Linked DNA regions of Homo sapiens: region 2 is linked to region 1. Evidence: promoter capture Hi-C in human tissues and cell types (Jung and others, 2019). All regions are on one chromosome and are shown on one strand. Each heading gives the region's core, a stretch centred on a gene start or on the middle of the fragment in contact. The rest is flanking DNA. Distances are from core to core; before and after follow the strand shown.

Region 1 (5,205 bases), core at 477-2,976:
TCTGAGGGGTCTTAATTGATTAGGAGCATGAAACAAAGTTGGCATGATGCAGGAGACAGAGGGAATTATAAACTTGCTCTTCCATCAGAATTCATAAATTCTGCTAACACATATTTTGTAGAGATGGGGCCTCACTGTGTTGACCAGTCTGGTGTGAAACTCCTGGCCTCAGGTGATCTACCTGCCTTGGCCTCCCCAAGTGCTAGGATTACAGGCATGAGCCATTGCACCCAGTCACATCTTCCTCTTACACTAACCCTCCTGTCTTCTTCTTATAAAGACTCTTGTGGCTGGGTGCGGTGGCTCACGCCTGTAATCCCAGCACTTTGGGAGGCTGAGGCAGGTGGATCACGAAGTCAGGAGATCAAGACCATCCTGGCTAACATGGTGAAACCCCATCTCTACTAAAAATACAAAAAAAAGAGAATTAGCCAGGCGTGTTGGCGGGCACCTGTAGTCCCAGCTATACGGAAGGCTGAGGCAGGAGAATGGTGTGAACCTGGGAGGCGGAGCTTGCAGTGATCCGAGTTCGTGCCACTGCACTCCAGCCTGGGCAACAGAGCAAGACTCTGTCTCAAAAAAAAGACTCTTGTGATTCCATGGGTCCTGCCCAGATAACCAGGATAATGTCCCCATCTGAAGTGCCTTCATTTGGTCACATATGCTAAGTCTCTTTTGCTATGTAGGGTGAAATGTCACAGGTTCTGGCCATTAGGACATGAATATCTTTGGGGACCATCATCCTGCCTACCGCAAAGTCCCTCTCATGCCACTCTTGTGACTGAGAGAACAGAAAAAAAATAGCAGACCTACGTGAGGTCCTTAATAATTCTCCCTGAGGCTGGGCTCAGTGGCTCATGCCTGTAATCCCAGCACTTTGGAAGGCTGAGGTGGGCGGATCGTTTGAGCTCAGGAGTTCAAGGCCAGCCTGGGCAACATAAGAAGACCTTGTCTCTACCAAAACTACAAAAACTTAGCTGGGCATGGTGGCGCATGTCTGTGGTCCCAGCTACTTGAGAGGCTGAGGTGGGAGAATCGCTGGAACCTGGGAGGCGGAGGTTGCAGTGAGCTGAGATCACGCCAGTGAACTCTAGCCTGGGTGGCAGAGTGAGACTCTGACTCAAAGAAAAAAAAAAAAAAAAAAGCCAGGGACGGTGGCTCACACCTGTAATCCTAGCACTTTGGAAGGCTGAGGCGGGTGGATCACCTGAGGTCAGGAGTTCGAGACCAGCCTGACCAACATGGTGAAACCCTGTCTCTTCTAAAACCACAAAAATTAGCTGGGTGTGGTGTCCGGCGCCTGTAATCCCAGCTACTCAAGGGAAGCTGAGGTGGGAGAATCGCTTGAACCTGGGAGGCAGAGGTTGCGGTGAGCCAAGATCGCAGAGCCAGGGCCACAGAGTAAGACTCTGTCTCAAAAAAAAAAAAATTCTCCCTGGAAGAGGCGCAGTCGCAGTTTTGATAATACACTCTACCACACACACTAGTGAAATGAGGAAAACAAGAGGAAAGCGGAAAGAGAGTGACTGTTTTGTCAAGAGATCCAGGAAGAGACAGCAGAAGTGAAAATCTTTTTCATCAGCCAAGTGGCTCCTCGGATTTCTTAATCTCCCCCCGAACTTCCTCTTCTCCACCCAGAACAGCCATTGGTGAGTGGGGCAGGGCAGGAGGGAACTGAAGAGTGAGAAAGCATTATTTCAGCAAAAGGTCTTTCCTCCCTTGCTCTCTCCTCCAACCACTGGCTCAGCCTCTCCGCCCGCTGCCTGTGAATGATGCAATGGAAGGTGTGCTGGGGTCGCCCTGTGTCCCGTGCATAGGAGCATCTCAGCCTCCAGGTCCTCTCCTTTGGGGCTCACGGCACCCCCATGCTACGAACCGCAGGCAGGGACGGCCTCTGTCGCCTGTCCACCTACTTGGAAGAACTCGAGGCTGTGGAACTGAAGAAGTTCAAGTTATACCTGGGGACCGCGACAGAGCTGGGAGAAGGCAAGATCCCCTGGGGAAGCATGGAGAAGGCCGGTCCCCTGGAAATGGCCCAGCTGCTCATCACCCACTTCGGGCCAGAGGAGGCCTGGAGGTTGGCTCTCAGCACCTTTGAGCGGATAAACAGGAAGGACCTGTGGGAGAGAGGACAGAGAGAGGACCTGGTGAGGGGTAAGGAGGTGGCGGGACAGGCAAGGCTAGAATGCCAGCCGGGTCCAGTGACTCATACCTGTAATCTCAGCACTTTGGGAGGCTGAAGAGGGCAGATCACTTGAGGTGAGGAGTTCAAGACCAGTCTGGACAACATAGTGAGGCTCTGTCTCTACCAAAAATAAAAAAAATTAGCCAGGTGTGGTGGTATACGTCTGTGATCCCAGCTTCTCAGGAGGCTGAGGTGGGAGGATCACTTGAGACCAGAAGGTCGAGGCTGCGGTGAGCTATGATCCTGCCACTGCACCCCAGCCTAGGTGACAGAACGAGACCTTGCCTCAAATATTTAAAATATATTTTTTTAAAATATATATATTTAAAATATATGTTTTAAATATATATTTTAAATAAATATATTTTAAAATATATATTTTAAATATATATTTAAAATATATATTTAAAACATATATTTTAAATATATATATTTAAAACATATATTTTAAATATATATTTAAAATATGTATATAATTATATTATTAAATATATATTAAATATGGTATATATTATATATAAATATAGTATATATTTATTATATAAATATACTATATTATATAAATATGGTATATTATATAAATATATATAAATAATAAATATTATATATTAAATATTTAATACATATATTATTAAAATAAATATTTAAAATACATATATATAAAATCCCTGAGCCTGGGAGATCTGGAATTTATATATATATACACACACGTATATATATGTGTATATATGTGTATATATATGTGTGTGTATATGTGTGTGTGTATATATATTTTAAGAGATGAGGTAGCCAGGTGCAGTGGCTCACACCTATAATCCCAGCACTTTGGGAGGCCAAGGCGGGTGGGTCACCTGAGGTCAGGAATTCGAGATCAGTCTGGCCAACATAGCAAAACCCTGTCTCTACTAAAAATACAAAAATTAGCCAGGCGTGGTGGCACACGCTTATAGTCCCAGCTACATGGGAGGCTGAGGCAGGAGAATCGCTTGAACCTGAGAGGTGGAGATTGCAGTGAGTTGAGATTGCACCACTGTACTCCAGGCTGGGTAACAGAGTGAAACCCCATCTCAAAAATAAATTAAGAAAGAGATGAGGTATCCTTTTTTTTTTTTTTTTTTAAGACTGAGTCTCGCTCTGTTGCCCAGGCTGGAGTGCAGTGGCGCAATCTCCGCTCACTGCAACCTCCGTCTCCCAGGTTCAAGCAATTTTCTGCCTCAGCATCCCGAGTAGCTGAGATTACAGGTACCTGCCACCATGCCTGGCTAATTTTTTGTATTTGTATTTTTTGTAGAGACGGGGTTTCACTATCTTGGCCAGGCTGGTCTTGAACTTCTGACCTCGTGATCCACCCACCTCAGCCTCCCAAAGTGCTGGGATTACGGGCATAAGCCACTGTGCCCGGCCAAGATGAGGTGTCCTTATGTTGCCCGGGCTGGTCTTGAACTCCTGGGCTCAAGCGAGCTTCCACCTTAGCCTCCCAAAGTGCTGGGATTACAGGCATGAATGACCACTGCCTGGCCACCAATTCCCTTTTCTTTCATACTAATCCCTGAGCCTGGGAGATCTGGAATTCTAATTTACGTACACACACATCTATATCTATATAAAAATTTCAACTTTTAGATTCAAGGGGTACATGTGCAGGTTTGTTACATGGGTATATTGAGTGATGCTGAGATTCAGAGTAAGATTGATCCTATCATGCAGGTACTTGAACATAGTAATAGTACCCAATGGTGAGATTTCTCCCCGCCACGAGTCCCCAGTGTCTCTTCTTCCCATCTTTCTGTCCATGAGAACCCAATGTTTAGCTTCCACTTATAAGTGAGAACATGCAGTCTTTGGTTTTCTATTCCTGCATTAGTTTGCTTTGGATAATGGCCTCCAGCTGCGTCCATGTTACTGCAAAGAACATGATTTTGTTCTTTTTTATGACTGTGTACAGAATTCTAATTTCATCCCTTTGGTCTTTGTTCATGCTGTGTTCTGCCTGGAATATTCTCCATCTTCTTTGCCTGGAAAAGTATTACTTACTGAAACCTTGAAGCCACTACCTTCTCTAAAGTAAAGTATTTACTCCTCTTCCCCCACTCCTTCTGATTCCTCGCTCCCACCACTCTGGCTGGCTCAGAAACCCCACTTCTGTGCCTCCTTAGCACTCTTGGATTTCTTTTTGTTGTTGTTGTTGAAACAGAGTCTTGCTCTGTCGCCCAGGCTGGAGTGCAGTGGCGCAATCTCAGCTCACTGCAAGCTCTACCTCCTGGGTTCACGCCATTCTCCTGCCTCAGCCTCCCGAGTAGCTGGGACTGCAGGTGCCCGCCACCATGCCTGGCTAATTTTTTGTATTTTTAATAGAGACGGGGTTTCCCTATGTTAGCCAGGATGGTCTCGATCTCCTGACCTCATGATCCAGCCGTCTCGGCCTCCCAAAGTGCTGTGATTACAGGTGTGAGCCACCGTGCCCAGCCAACATGATTTCTTTTATTATATCTTCTATCTCATAAAATAATCACAATGAGCTGGGTGCGGTGGCTCACGCCTGTAATCCCAGCACTTTGGGAGATTGAGGTGGATGGATCACCTGAGGTCAGGAGTTCGAGACCAGCCTGGCCAACATGGTGAAACCCTGTCTCTACTAAAAATACAAAAAAATTAGCCGGGTGTGGTGGCGGGCGCCAGTAATCCCTGCTAATCTAGAGGCTGAGACAGGAGAATCACTTGAACCCAGGCGGTGGAGGTTGCAGTGAGCGAAGATTAAGCCACTGCACTCCAGCCTGGGTGACAGAGTAAGACTCTGTCTCAAAAAAAAAAAAAAAAAAAAAAGAAAAAATATGATTTATACTCAGGCATAAGCTCAAGAGATAATACATGCAAAGTGCTTAACACAATTCAGAGCAGGTAGCAAGTGCTCAGCAAATATAGGCTATTGCTGAAGTGGCAGAGATGGCACTTGAGCTGTGGAATTGTTTTTTTAAAAATATTTTTATTTTTTACAAAAAATTAGCTGGGCGCAGTGATGG
Region 2 (5,556 bases), core at 3,057-5,556, 240 kb before region 1:
GAAAACAATCTTCCTCCTCTTCCTTCCCCTCTAAGCTCAGCTCTGTTCTTCTCTAGCCATAGATCCCACAGCTGCCCAGGGAATGATGGGTTGGACCAGCTGAGCCTTAACCGCTTTCTGTGGAACCTGCACTCTCAGCTCTGTTGGGATCTGCTGTAGGGCAGGATGGTGGCTTTCTTCTTCCTGTACTTTTCACTGGGGACAGAGGACAGAATTGGGCACAATGAGCCACGTAATACTTTTTTTTTTTTTCTTTGAGACGGAGTCTCGCTCTGTCACCCAGGCTGCAGTGCAATGGCAAGATCTCGGCTCACTGCAACCTCCACCTCCTGGGTTTAAGCGATTCTCCTGCCTTAGCCTCCCAAGTCGCTGGGATTACAGGCGCCTGCCACCATGCCCAGCTAATTTTTGTACTTTTAGTAGAGATGGGGTTTCACCCATGTTGGCCAGGCTGGTCTTGAACACCTGAGCTCAAGTGATCAGCCCACCTCGGCCTCCCAAAGTGCTGGGATTGCAGGCTTGAGTCACCGTGCCCAGCCCTTAATACATTTTTGATAACTTGAATCAATACTTAAAACTTCAGAGTCAGATTGAGTAGTAGGTGACTCTCACCTGCGGGGAACTCTTCCTCCACACGAAGGGAAAAACATTGCTTCCTGTGTAATATTTATTAATACTTCCTCTCCGTTCTTTCTATTTTGTGCTTCTGGACCAGCATTTAGTCCAATATTGGGATATACATATTTATTTATTTATTATATTTATTTATTTTGAGACAGGGTCTCACTCTGTCGCCCAGGCTGGAGTGTAGTGGCTAGATCACGGCTCACTGCAGCCTCGACCTCCCAGGCTAAAGTAATCCTCCCATCTCAGCCTTCTGAGTAGCTGGGACCACAGGTGTGTGCCATCATGCCGGACTAAATTTTGTATTTTTTGTAGAAGCCGGGTTCCACCATATGGCCCAACTTGGTCTCGAACTCTTGGACTCAAGTGATCCTCTCATCTTGGCCTCCCAAAGTGCCAGGACTACAGGCGTTAGCCACTGTGCTTGGTCATATGTATTTATAATACATTCTTTCTTTCTTTTTTTTTGGAGAGGGAGTCTCACTCTGTCACCCAGGCTGGAGTGCAGTGGCGTAATTTCAGCTCACTGCAACCTCCCTCTCAGGTTCAAGTGACTCTCCTGCCTCAGCCTCTCAAGTAGCTGGGATTACAGGCGCCCACCACCATGCCTGGCTAATTTTTGTGTGTTAGTAGAGACGGGGTTTCACCATGTTGGCGAGGCTGGTCTCGAACTCCTGACCTCAAGTGATCTGCCCACCTTGGCTTCCCAAAGTGCTGGGATTACAGGCATGAGCCACCACGCCCAGCCTGTATTTATAATACATTTCTTTTACATTTTATTTTATATGTTTCCAACATTTTACCCAGTTTGGCAGGAATTCCATTCTATCCATGGCATCCATTTGCTTGTAATTGGTAGCCAGTCTTACTGGTGCAGATGTAAAATGTCAACAGTTGCCAGGTGCTGTGGCTCATGCCTATAATCCCAGCACTCTGGGAGGCCGAGGTGGGCGGATCACAAGGTCAAGAGATCGAGACCATCCTGGCCAATATGGTGAAACCCCATCTCTACTAAAAATACAAAAATTAGCTGGGCGTGGTGGTGCATGCCTGTAATCCCAGCTACTCAGGAGGCTGAGGCAGGAGAATTGCTGGAACCCGGGAGGCAGAGGTTGCAGTGAGCCGAGATCTCACCACTGCACTGCAGCCTGGGCGACAGAGCGAGACTCCGTCTCAAAAAAAAAAAAAAAAAAAAAGTCAACATTTATGTTTTGTTGTTACATTTTGTTTTCAAGATTTGTTGCTGTTTCTTGTTAATAGTCTTATTATTTTTCGTAAATATCATTCTTATTTTATAACTATTGTCTCCTCTGTTATAACTCTGAGGATGTGCTTATCAAAGCAATATTCCTCCTCTTCCTCCACTAACCACAGGTTGGTCCTTCTCTATCCACAGACCACACAGCTGCCAAGGGTAGCATGCGCTAGAGCTGCCGATCCTTAGAGTTTCCTGTGCAGCCAGCATTTCCAGCTGTTTGAGAGCCGCACCAGGACAGGACGATGGCTTTCTTCCCATCCTCCTCACTTAGGACAGGACGGGGTGGGCACAGGGACCCATCCAGCAAGTTATTATTTTTGTAGTTATTAAGATAGAAAGTATAGGCCGGGCATGGTGGCTCACACCTGTAATCCCGCCTCAGCCTCCCAAAGTGCTGGGATTACAGCGGTAAGTCATCATGCCCAGACGATTATTTTTTATTTGTATACGTTTATGGGGTACAAGTGTAACTTTATTGCATGGATAGATTCCAAAATGATGAAGTTAGGGCTTTCAGGTATCCACTAACCCAGTGACACACATTGTATCCATTAGATAATTCTTTTTTTTTGATGGAGTCTTGCTCTGTGACCCAGGCTGGAGTGCAGTGGCGTGATCTCAGCTCACTGCAACCTCCGCCTCCCGGGTTCAAGCGATTCTCCTGCCTCAGCCTCCTGAGTAGCTGGGACTATGGGCGTGTGCCACCACGCCCGGCTAATGTATCCATCATCATAACACACAACCATTTGAATGAATCTCACAGGCATTGTGCTGAGTGAAAAAGGTCACCCTCAGAAGGTGAGGCGATGGACGATTCCATTTATACAAGAGTCTCAAAGTGACAAAGTGATAGAGACGTAGAACAGATTAGCAGGTGCTAGGGTGGGAGAGCGATTATAAAGGGGCAGCATGAGGGAGTTCCTACGTGGTGGTGGGACAGTTCTGTGTCTTGATTGTGGCGGTGGTTCTATAAAGCCATACATACAGGCAATAAAATGTTACAGAACTATACCCATAGGCAAAGAAAAGGGAGGAGGAAAAGAAGGTGGAAGAGGAGGAAGAGCAGGAGAAAAGAAGGAAAAGGAGAAAAGGAAATAGAAATAGAAGGAAGAGGAAGAGAAAAAGAGAAACGAATTATGCACAAACTGGTGAGATCTGAGTGACCTCTGGAACCTGGTTAAACGTGTGATGCCAGTGCAAAGTCTCTGGTTTTGAAAATGTGCCATACGCCGGGCGTGGTGGCTCACGCCTGTAATCCCAGCAGTTTGGGAGGCCGAGGCAGGCGGATCGCCTGAGGTCAGAAGTTCGAGACCAGCCTGGGCAACATGGCAAAACCTCGTTTCTACTAAAAAGAACAAAAAAAATTAGCCAAGAGTGGTGGCGGACACCTGTCATCCCGGCAACTCGGGAGGCTGAGGCAGGAGAATCGCTTGAACCCGGGAGGCAGAGGTTGCAGTGAGCCAAGATTGTGCCACTGCACTCCAGCCTGGCTGACAGAGATTCTGTCTCAAAAAAAAAAAAAAAAAAAAAAAGTACTGTAATTATAAGAGATTACCATTGGCCGGGCACAGTGGCTTATGCCTGTAATCCCAGCACTTTGGGAGGCTGAGGTGGGCGGGTCACTAGAGACCAGGAGTTCAAGACCAGCCTGGCCCACATGGTGAAATCCCATCTCTACAAAAAATTAGCTGGGTGTGGTGGTGCATGCTTGTAATCCCAGCTACTTGGGAGTCTGAGGCAGGAGAATCCTTAAACCCATGAGGCAGAGGTTGCAGTGAGCCGAGATCGCGCCACTGCACTCCAGCCTGGGTGACAGAGCAAGACTCTGTCCCCCCCGCCCCCCAAAAAAAGGTTAACATTGTGGGGAGCTGGCTAGTGGGTACACGGAAGCTATAAAGCTATAGGTATTAATGTTTGTTTGTTTGCTTGTTTGAGACAGTTTCACCGTTGTTGTCCAGGCTGGAGTGCAGTGGCACAATCTTGGCTCACAGCAACCTCCGCCTCCTGGGTTCAAGCCATTCTCCTGTCTCAGCCTCCGGAGTAGCTGGGATTACAGGCATGCGCCACCATGCCTGGCTAATTTTGTATTTTTAGTAGAGACGGGGGTTTCTCCATTTTGGTCAGGCTGGTCTTGAACTCCCGACCTCAGGTGATCCGCCCGCCTCAGCCTCTCAAGGTGCTGGGATTACAGGCGTGAGCCACCGCGTCCGGCCGGTATTAGTGTTTTAAAATAAAAAATTACATTTACAGAAAACTCTTGGCAGAACTTCAGATAAGGTAGGACAGAGCTCGGGCGGGTGGGGCCACACACACCGGATTCATGGGGAAGAAGTTATCATCGACGGCTTCTTGTTTCCTGAGTCGGTTGTGAGAAGGAAACTGCAAGAGTGGGGCAGAGAACCAGAGTGTCAGAGCAAAACCTCCTCTATCTGCACATCCTGGGGACGAACCGGGCAGCCGGAGAGCTGCGGCCGGCCCAGTCCCGCTCCGCCTTTGAAGGGTAAAACCCAAGGCGGGGCCTTGGTTCTGGCAGAAGGGACGCTATGACCGCAGAATTCCTCTCCCTGCTTTGCCTCGGTGAGTCTCCAGGACTGGGACGAATGGGCTTGGGCTGGTGAGAAAAACTCATGTGGGAGTGGCAGTCCAGGTGGAAATGCGGTGTGTGGAAGTAATGACTTCCAGGTGTTGCACACCTGCGGTGGGTGGGTCTGGGCTGTGGGTTCTGTGAGTTCTGCCGCCCACATGCAAGCGAGGAGGAGGCCGCGCTGCAGAGACACGGGGACAGACTCCGCTGGGAAAGGCAGAGCTGCTGTGGGGTCTCCGAGTCTGCAGCCGCTAAATACCGCAGTACTGCCATCATCCTCCGTCGGAATAGAGGAGGGCTGGGCTTAGGGATCTACAGGGTGCAAGGCTGTGGGCAAAAAGACAATTTTCTTCTCTCTCTCTCTTATTTATTTATTTATGTATGTATGCATTTATTTATGAGACAGAGTCTCACTCTGTAGCCCAGGCTGGAGTGCAATGGCGTGATCTGGGCTCACTGCAACCTCCGTCTCCCAGGTTCAAGCGATTCTCCTGCCTCAGCCTCCCGAGTAGGTGGGACTACAGGTGCAGGCCACCACACCCGGCTGACTTTTGTATTTTAAGTAGAGACGGGGTTTCACCATGTTGGTCAGGCTGGTCTCGAGCCCCTGACCTCAGGTGATCCGCCCGCCTCAGCCTCCCAAAGTGCTGGGATTACAGGCGTGAGCCACCACACCTGGCCCCAAGAAGACAATTTTCTGACCAGCTCGATTCTTAGGCTGATTTTAACCATCCTCCAATTGAACCTGATGTATTCAGACAGAGCTCACACTGTGAAACGGATGACCTGGGTTATAATCTCGGCTTTACTACATAGAAACTCTAGGCTTGACCCAGCAGAGCTCCACCTCCCTAAGGCCCCAGTTCCTCCCTGGTGCACGGGGGGTGCGGTGGACATCGACGTGCTTCGTCTGCTTCAGTTCCTTCCTCCTTTTCTGGGTGCAGCCCTTCCTTGTGGGGTAATGCTCGTCTCCTACACACATTTGCACCTTAGATGAGCATTTTTTTTTTTTTTTGACAGAGTCTTGCTTTGTCTCCCAGGCTGGAGTGCAGTGGTGTGATCTCAGCTCACTGCAACCTCCACCTCCTGG

The links. The method cuts DNA at HindIII sites, captures the fragments that hold promoters and counts their contacts. A contact is called where the count stands out against the background at its distance.
Region 2: the fragment with the promoter of VSTM1 here is called in contact with the fragment with the promoter of NLRP12 in region 1 in 7 of the 25 tissues and cell types used here (H1 embryonic stem cells, dorsolateral prefrontal cortex, liver and 4 more).

The regions. Positions count from the first base shown.
Region 1 is chr19:53,820,835-53,826,039 of GRCh38, reverse strand. NLRP12 (NLR family pyrin domain containing 12) reads left to right here and starts at 1,726. Exons shown (of 10, transcript NM_144687.4): 1 at 1,726-2,154. The coding sequence starts at 1,866. The HindIII fragment of the contact is 28,124 bases long and covers 1-5,205 here.
Region 2 is chr19:54,062,647-54,068,202 of GRCh38, reverse strand. It overlaps VSTM1 (V-set and transmembrane domain containing 1), which reads left to right and starts at 4,306. Exons shown (of 9, transcript NM_198481.4): 1 at 4,306-4,459. The coding sequence starts at 4,426. The HindIII fragment of the contact is 40,052 bases long and covers 1-5,556 here.